2 separate regions of the Homo sapiens genome follow, and region 1 is linked to region 2. The links are contacts of gene promoters, found by promoter capture Hi-C in human tissues and cell types (Jung and others, 2019). All regions are on one chromosome and are shown on one strand. The core of a region is centred on a gene start or on the middle of the fragment in contact, and the rest is flanking DNA. Distances in the headings are between cores, read along the strand shown.

Evidence for each region. The method cuts DNA at HindIII sites, captures the fragments that hold promoters and counts their contacts. A contact is called where the count stands out against the background at its distance.
Region 1: a contact is called between a fragment that was not itself captured here and the fragment with the promoter of LRCH1 in region 2, in 1 of the 25 tissues and cell types used here (dorsolateral prefrontal cortex).

The regions. Positions count from the first base shown.
Region 1 is chr13:47,980,890-47,985,544 of GRCh38, reverse strand. The region is part of intron 4 of SUCLA2 (succinate-CoA ligase ADP-forming subunit beta); the gene reads left to right. Among named protein-coding and RNA genes, the nearest start is that of SUCLA2, 18 kb to the left of the region's middle. The HindIII fragment of the contact is 4,759 bases long and covers 191-4,655 here.
Region 2 is chr13:46,550,199-46,554,556 of GRCh38, reverse strand. LRCH1 (leucine rich repeats and calponin homology domain containing 1) reads right to left here and starts at 1,387. Exons shown (of 20, transcript NM_001164211.2): 1 at 854-1,387. The coding sequence starts at 1,160. RefSeq lists enhancers at 254-573, 230-930 and silencers at 1,134-1,193, 1,254-1,443. The HindIII fragment of the contact is 6,535 bases long and covers 1-4,358 here.

The DNA.
Region 1 (4,655 bases), core at 1,321-3,820, 1.4 Mb before region 2:
TGGATGGAGTTGGAAGCCATTATCCTCAGCAAACTAATGCAGGAGCAGAAAACCAAACACCGTGTGTTTTCACTTAAAAGTGGGAACTGAATGATGAGAACACATGGACACAAGGTGGGGATCAACACACACTGGGGCCTGTCGGGGTGGGGGTGGAGGGAGGGAGAGCATCAGAAAGAATAGCTAGTGAATGTTGGGCTTAATACCTGGGTGATGGGATGATCTGTACAGCACACCACCATGGCACATGTTTACCTATGTAACAAACCTACACATCCTGGACATGTACACCTCAACTTAAAAGTTGAAGAGAAAAAAAAAGAATAAGCAAAGCAAAACTAAAACAAAACAGAAAACAATTACTTCTATTACTGACTTGTTTTTAGGAGATGTATCATAGGTTCTACTGGTCTTTAGTACCTTTCACATCCTGATTCCGGGAGGTAACTTCTATGGGGTTGGCTTGCCAGAAAGTGAATTCAAGTACCTACTCTCTGTGTGATACCTTTGTTAAATTAGATTTCTTAACATTTGCCTAGTGCCTGTTGGGTACTTTTGGTCTGAGTCAAGTCTATTTAATAAATCACATTTACTACTTTTATTTTTCTGGTAAAACAACTGCAGTCTTCTGCAAATGAGTGGGACATTTTCCTGTGTCAATTTTTGACTTTACCTGAAATAGTTATAAAATGTGCTTAAGAATTCTAATTTTACTTCGTGTGATTTTTTTTAAATACACATCTTTATTTTTTATTTTTATTTTTAATTTTTTTGAGAGTCTTGCTCTGTCGCCCAGGCTGGAGTGCAGTGGTGCCATCTCTGCTCACTGCAACCTCCGCCTCCCAAGTTCAAGTGATTCCCCTGCCTCAGCCTTCCAAGTAGCTGGGATTACAGGTGCATTCCACGATGCCCTGCTACAGATCTTTATTATATCATGTGGCTGCTTTCTCATTTAAGCCTTTTACATTTAAGCCTATTTTAAGGCAAATTTAAAAAAATACCAACAAGAGAAGAAGAACTTAGGTTAAGAAAGTGAAAAGTAGGGCTGGGCGTGGTGGCTGACACCTGTAATCCCGACACTTTGGGAGGCTGAGGCGGGCGGATCATGAGGTCAGGAGATCGAGACCATCCTGGCTAACACAGTGAAACACTGTCTCTACTAAAAATACAAAAAAAACAAAAAATTAGCTGGGCGTGGTGGGGGGTGCCTGTAGTCCCAGCTACTCGGGAGGCTGAGGCAGGAGAATGGCATGAACTCAGGAGACGGAGCTTGCAGTGAGCCGAGATTGCACCACTGCACTCCAGCCTGGGTGACAGAGTGAGACTGTGTCAAAATAAAAAAAAAAAAAAGTGAAAAGTAGAATTATTAATATATTTGAAATTTCAGCTACTTGCTTGAAATGAAATTGTTTTGAAAGTTTATTACTAAGATTTAAAAGTGAAGCCAAGTCGTTTGAACATGAAATAGCTATTCATTCTACAGTGTTGACTAAATGTGGAACTATAGTCATTGTTTAACGTTTACCCATGCAAGTTGGTTTCTTTCTAATTGGTTGTGGAATTAAGACAAATAGAGACTCCACTTTCTTCTATGTATTATTGTTTCCTTTTTTTTCTAACTTATAACCAATTGTTGACTTAATTTTTACTTTAGTGAGAATTTAATATTAACTTTTCTCCTCGTGTTGCCTTCTCTGTGGCTTTTCATTTCTTTTACCAGTTGGTATAAAAAGAGAGTAAAACTAAAATGAAAAGAGGCTGGGTGCGGTGGCTCACACCTGTAATCCCAGCACTTTGAGAGGCCGAGGCGGGTGGATCACAAGGTCAGGAGATCGAGACCATCCTGGCTAACACGGTGAAACCCTGTCTCTACTAAAAGTACAAAAAATTAGCCAGGCGTGGCGGCAGGCGCCTGTAGTCCCAGCTACTCCGGAGGCTGAGGCAGGAGAATGGCGTGAACCCGGGAGGCGGAGCTTGCAGTGAGCCCATATCGCACCACTGCACTCCAGCCTGGGCGACAGAGCGAGACTCCGTCTCAAAAAAAAAAAAAAAAAAGGGAAAAGAAAACTAAACTAAAATGTTAGAATATTTTAAAGATTTGTTGGTCTGTACCTCTCCTGTTGAATAAAATTATATTTTATGGTTATCTGTAGATTTGTCTATATTCTATTTCAGTGGCATGACTAAAACTGAACCGCCTCTTCTTCAATCAGAATTTTTTCCTGCTCTTTAGATCTTTGTAAAAGCTAATAATTATGCACTGCCTTGCTAGAGAGAAAACGAAGAATACCCTTTCATTTGAAATTTATAGAGGAACTGAAAATTAAACCATCATTTCAAACATTTCTCTTTACTTAGACTTGCTAATGTTCTCTTCTTTAGCCTCAGAAGGCTCTGAATTCTTTTATTTAAAAAAGTTTTTTTTTTATATTGAAAGGAGTTCTAATACTAAGTGCCCATGGTTTAGCTAAACTTCAGAGGCTAAGAGCATAGTCCTGCACTTGATTGCCCTTACTTTAGACACCAGTCTCAATTTTGGTGGTCCCCAGGTTACCCTCATTTCTGACTAGCTAGCTACAAATTTGAGGGTTAATTCCTTAGAACGACTCACAGAGCTCAGGAAAATGTTAAACTTAGTATTACAGTTTTATTATAGCCAAAGGATATAAAAATCATAACCAGCCAACAAGGTCTGGGAGGGTTCCCAAACACTAAGTTTCCACTGTTCTCAGGAATGTTTTGTCTTGCTAGCATCTTAATGTGTGGCAGTATGCAGAATATTGCCAACCCAAAGCTCCCCAAGCTTTTGGTGTTCAGAGATTTTTTTTTTTTAGATTGTCAAAAATATAACAAAAAATTTACCTTACCCATTTTGAGTATGCAGTATAATAGTGCATTCTCAGAAAGAAAGAAGGAAGGAAGGAAGGAGGGAGAGAGGAAGGAAGGAGAATGTTAATTTCTCTTTTGGTAAAAGGAACAGAGTAAAACAATTTGTGCACATTTTGTGCAACATCTCCAGAACAGATATCCAAATCTTTTTTTTTCTTTAATTTTTCTAGAACTTTTTTTGTCTTACAAAATTAAAACTATTCATTGAACAGCTCCCTTTTCCCTCTCCCACTTCCCTCCAGCTCCTGGTAATCTCCATTCTTTGTGTTTCTAAAAGTTTGAGTATTTTAGATACCTGAAGTAGCTGTCTTTTTGTAACTGGTTTATCTCAGCATAATGTCCTCAAGGTTTATTCATGATGTAGCATATGACAAAGTTTCCTTATTTATGGCTGAGTACTATTCCATTTTATGTATATACTGCATTTTCTTTATCCATTCATCTTTTGATGGACATTCAGATTGCTTTCATCTCTTGGCTATTGTCAGTAATGCTACAGTGAACATAGATGTTCAAATATTTCTTTGAGATCCTGTTTTCATTTCTTTTGGATGTATACCTAGAAGTGGGATTACTGGATCATATGGTAATTCTATTTTTAATTTTTTTGAGAAGCTTCTATAATGTTTTCCATAGCAGCTGTACCGTTTTATTTAATTAATTATTTTTTTGAGACAGAGTCTCGCTATGTCTCCCAGGCTGGAGTGCAGTAGTGCAGTCTCGGCTCACTGCAACCCCAGTCTCCCGGGATCAAGTGATTCTTCTCCCTCAGCCTCCTGAGTAGCTGGAATTACAGGCACCCACCACCACACCCTGCTAATTTTTTTATTTTTGTATTTTTTTGAGACGGAGTCTCGTTCTGTTGCCCAGGCTGGAGTGCAGTGGTGCGATCTCGGCTCACAACCTCCGCCTCCTGGGTTCAAGTGATTCTTCTGCCTCAGCCTTCTGAGTAGCTGGGACTACAGGCGTGCACCACCATGCCCGGCTAGTTTTTGTATTTTTAGTAGAGACAGGGTTTCACTATGTTGGCCAGCTGGTCTTGAACTCCTGACTTCAGGTGTTCTGCCTGCTTTGGCCTCCCAAAGTGCTGGGAATACAGGCATGAGCCCACTGCACCTAGCTGAGCCGTACCATTTTATATTCCAACTAACAGCAGACAAAGCTTCCAGTTTTTCTGCATCCTCGCCAATATTCATTTTCTGTTTTTTTGGTAGTGGCCATCCTAAAGGGTGTGAGATTATATTTCACTGTGGTTTTTATTTGCATTTCCCCCGTTATTAGTGATACTGAGTATCTTTTCATATGCTTACAGGCCATTTGCAGATCTGCTTTGGAGAAATGTCTATTTAAGTCCTTTGCCCATCTTTAAATTTTTTTGTTTGGGTTTTTTATTTTTTACTTTTTTGGTTATTGAGTTGTAGAAGATCTTACATATTCCGAATTTCAGCTTTTAACTAGATATATGGATTGCAAATATTTTCTCTCATTTTGTAGATTGCCTTTTTACTTTGTTGATTATTTCCTTTGCTGTGAAGTTTTTAAGTTTGATAGAGTTCCATTTGTCAATTTTTGCTTTTTTTCTGCCTGTGCCTTTGGTATCATGTTTAAGAAATCATTGCTAAATCCAATGTCATAAACTTTTTTCTCCCTGTTTTCTTCTATGAGTTTTATAGTTTCAGGTTTTATGTTTAGGTCTTTAATCTATTTTGAGTAAATTTTTGCATATAGTAGTATTGGTAAGGGTCTAACTTCATTCTTTTGCATGT
Region 2 (4,358 bases), core at 138-2,637:
GCCGGGCTCACACAGGAAAACAGGCTCACGTTAATTACTTTGCCTTTAATATGCCACGCCGTCCTTTCCTGGGGCCCCCGCAACGGTTGGGTAACTGAGAACCAGGTAGCCTCGGTGGTAGGACCCAAACTGTGTGGGCGGTGAGCAAAAGGCACGGAAGGAAGAGGGCCGATCGCTTCCGAAGCGGCAGCCGACTGGGATTCACTACAAGCCCGGCGGCTCTTTTCCCGCACAAGCGCAGGGAGAGGAAACTTGGGCACCTCACAGGCGGCACCGAGTTGCCCGATCGCTCGGCGATGTCGCCGAGGGGGCTCGCGGCACTGCGCCGATGCCCCTGGCTCGGCCGAGGGCGTGCCACCTTTGTCTGGGTTTCCCCACCAGGATGGGCTACGCCTCGATGCAAAGACGGCTTGAACTGGTTGGAGGCGCCGACGCCGCTGTCCGCGCTGGAGTTCCCAGCCCTGCGCGGGGCCCAGGAAGCCGACACAGCCGCCTGAAACCTCCCACTTACACTGCGCGCACGCGGCGCGCCTGCAAGTCCCAGCCCCGCGGTTACTTCCCTGGCGCGGCAGCCACAGGGTGGAGAGCCGGAGACCCCTCGCTCTCAGGCGCAGAGGCCCGGCGCACCCCTGCCCTCCTGGCACTGCATCGCCGGACCAGGCAGGGCCCCCGTGCCCTCTCCAGGGCCCGCTTCTTCCGCGCCCACGCGAGTCCCTTCTTCGGGAGACAACGGGCCGATGGACCCTCCCTCCCCCAGCAAGACAAGATCTCCGACTGTCCACCGCGTTAGGGAACGCACGACAGACACCCAGACAGCACCCACACCCCTGCCCGCCCCTCGGCCCTCACTCACCTGCCTGCACCGTGTCCGAGAGGTCGTGCCCGGGGGCTGCGGTACGGGGAAATTCCTTCAATTTCCTGGCGCTCAGGTTCAGCCCCCCGGAGTTGGCCGCCTCCTCAAGCGCGCGCTCCAGACCCCGGTTCAAGGGCAGGTTGAAGCCCCCGCTGCCACCGCCGCCACCACCCGCCCCGCCGGGGGCGCCGGTTCCTCCGTGGTGCTGATGGTGGTGGTGGTGGTGGTGGGGATGATGAAGTGGGTGCAGAGTAGCTACCGAAAGGGCCGGGACGAAAGGTTGGGGTTCGCTTCCCGGCGTCGCCATCTTCTCCCGGGCCCCCCCACCCCGCCCCGCCGCTCCTGCGGGGGGGTCACAGCGTTCCCCGCGAGGGGAAAACGGCAGCTCGGGCTGAGTGCCGCAGTGCTCCACCGAAAGGCGCTGGAAGGAGGGGAGGAGGGTGTGGGCAGGCGCGTAGAATGGGGGGCGGGCGGGGAGGCGGCCGTGGCAGCTCGGTCTTGAAGGTTTCCTGTCCCCGGGAAGCTAAGGACTGCGGCGGCGGCGGCGGCGGCGGCAGCGCGCATGTGTCTCCTCCCGCCCCTGCGCCCTCCCCCCGGCTGCTCTGCCCTCCTCCGCCGTCTGCTCTCTCCTCCTCCTTCCCCCACGCAGTCTGCCCCGCCTGAGCCTTCCTCCGCGCCTATTCTGCCGGCCGCCGCCGCCTTGCCGCGATCCGCCCCGCAATCGGGTACACGGCGGGGCTGGACGTCTGCTCCGGGGCAACTGAGGCGCCGAACCTCTCTCTGGGCGTCCTTTTGCCGCCCAGGAGGCTTTAGGGGACTGGAGGTTGCGGGGATAGGGGGGTGGTCTGAGAACACGGATAAAACGGCGGGAGGCAATGAATGGGATTTACAGTACAGTGAGGTTTGGGGCAGGAGAGGGTTCTCTCAATTCTGCGATTTATTCTGGCCGTTTAACCCAGAGATCCCCAAGAGGCAGTTTTCATTCACTATGGGGTCATCCCTGCAGATGCCCCCTGGCATTTGGGCGCTTACAATGAACCAGACGCTTGTTTAGGGAGTCTACGTAAGTTACCTCATTAATCCAGGGACCCCAGGAGTGCCAAAGTTGTTCCCCTGAGTCTACAGAGGAAGTTAATAAATGTATCTAAGGTCACCCCTGCAGTTAGAGGGGCGCTAGATTCGAGCTAGGGCCCTCAGAATCTAGGGTTGCCCTCCTTCACAGTGTACCCCTGGGCCAGACGCCAGCGCCAAGGGACGAATACGAGTGGGACAGAGTGTTTGCTGAGCGGCAGAAGAAAGCTACAGACATAGGAAAGAAAAACTCAAAATGAGGGCAGTGTTTATGGGGGACAGAAGACATTGTCGTAGGAGAAAGATGAGCTGGCTGCTCCCCGAAATTGGGTGGTGCCAGGAGAGGCTAGAAAGCCAGTGACCCCAAACAGCAAATCAGTCACAGCTCGAGTCTGAGCTGAAAGAACCATCGAAGTCTCCTTGTGCCCTTCTTCTTCCCGCTTTGGGGCATGGAAACGAACATGTCCGCTTGCAAGTGAATTCACATTCTGCCATCAGCCACCCAGTGGCACCCAGGCCAATGCTGGCACACCAGGGGCGACAGAGAACATCTGACACCCTAAGGGCAGACCAGCTGGACGATTAATAGAATACCATTCCTTTCCTGAAGTTAAAGCTTCATGTCCAACTTTCCAGGGCCTTTATTTTTGCTCTATTCTTAAGGCTTGATTGTCCCCTATGAGCGACTTGGCTTGGGGAAAATGAGTCGGGGGGTGGGTGCGGGGTTGTCGGGGTGTCAAGCACGAAAGTAATGCAACCCTTGGAGTAGGGGAGCTGGTTTTTTAAGTGGTAATACATAAGTTTGATGGCCTAGACAACAGGCTGGAACTGGTGACTTCATGGACTCGGCACTTAAGTATGGCATGATCTGTGTCACTTGAATTGACTGCACAGATAGTTGCCCTTAATTCCTGCGGGATTCTTGGCCCTGAGCAAAGCATTCTAATCTGCCCGGAGGAGACACGCGCCACCTGCTGGTATCCTCCCGCAAACCTCCCCTCTCACATGCCATTCGCCGCAGCCTTCCAGGCTTTTAAAAGTCCGGCTTCAAAATTCATAATAATAACGACAATAATAATAAATGAAAGTATACTTCCATCACAAAAAAGTAACCAAATTTCCACTTTCCTCCAGGGAGAGGAACAGAGAAAAACAAAATCCAGTGAAAAACAGAAACACAGAAAAAAATCCAATTAAAAGAATCTTCAGCTGAAACCAGGTGGTAGTCTGTGTGATCAGCAGTCAGGACATGATTTGGGACATCTTCTGGCTGACTGCAAATTTAGTTCAGACTAAGAGTCGTTGTGATGCATCATAGGAAGCATACATATTTTTTTAAAAGACCACTAATTCTTCTTTAAAGAAAATAATGGATTGCATATGAGCCCACGATTTGCTTTTTAACAAATGATCAGTCCCTCTGTTAGATTGACCTACTCATTGTGGTTTGTTTACCCATCTACAGATTACTAAACTGTAAATTCCATGAAATAGGGACCTATTCATCTTTGCAACTCTCTCCCCATGCCTCAGAATCGAGGGGAGTACTTTGTATATAATGAGTGCACAATTAATATTAGTAATCAATTAAGTATTGCATAATAGACCATGTGTTTAACAGGTTTGCCACCTGTTGATATGTCCTTTTTTATTTGTATAAATTTATGGGGTACTTGTTGATACATCTTTAAAGTTTCAAATGATTTCCCTGAATGAAGGAGTTTTTCTTAAAATGGGAGAGAGTACTTGACCCTTGAAAATGATCTTGATTATTTCTAAATATTAAAGAAACTCGACAAGCCATTTCCCCTTGCTGTCTTGCTTCTTCACTATTTCTTCAAGAAGATGGACATCTCTCTTTTGTTTAATACCCTGTTTACTTATTCTGAAAACAGCACCCTTTTGCTATTAAGGGCAGGAATCAGGCCCTTTTAAAAAAATCCGCTGCCTGGAAGATTCAACAAATAATGTTGTCTGGCTGAGATATTTGATGCAACTAGTAACATCAACATGAATTTCTCTGAAGATAAATAATATGTGTTTCAGGATTTTTCTATGTGAATCAGCTAGTTGATGAAAAAATGACCCTGATAAAATGAGGAAAAAAAAATAGGACAATGTCCTGAGTTTTTCATGAACCTGAATGTATTTAATTTCAAAAATTATATATAATTGTGAGGCTGTGCCTTCACTATTTTTTTTTCTGATGAAAAAAAAAAACCAAAACAATGGTAACAATAAATTGTAGTGTTTTTTAAGTATCCTTTTTCAAAAAATAACAAAAGGAGGTTACTAAAGTCAGTTACCAATTATTTTGATGTTGTTTATCTCTGAAATCAAAAACTCTGGGAACTACTGTACTTGCTGAGACCCTTGGTTTTCTTAAAAGGAAGTTAGTCATACATAAGTCTAGTCACCTGCTTTCAAGCATTTT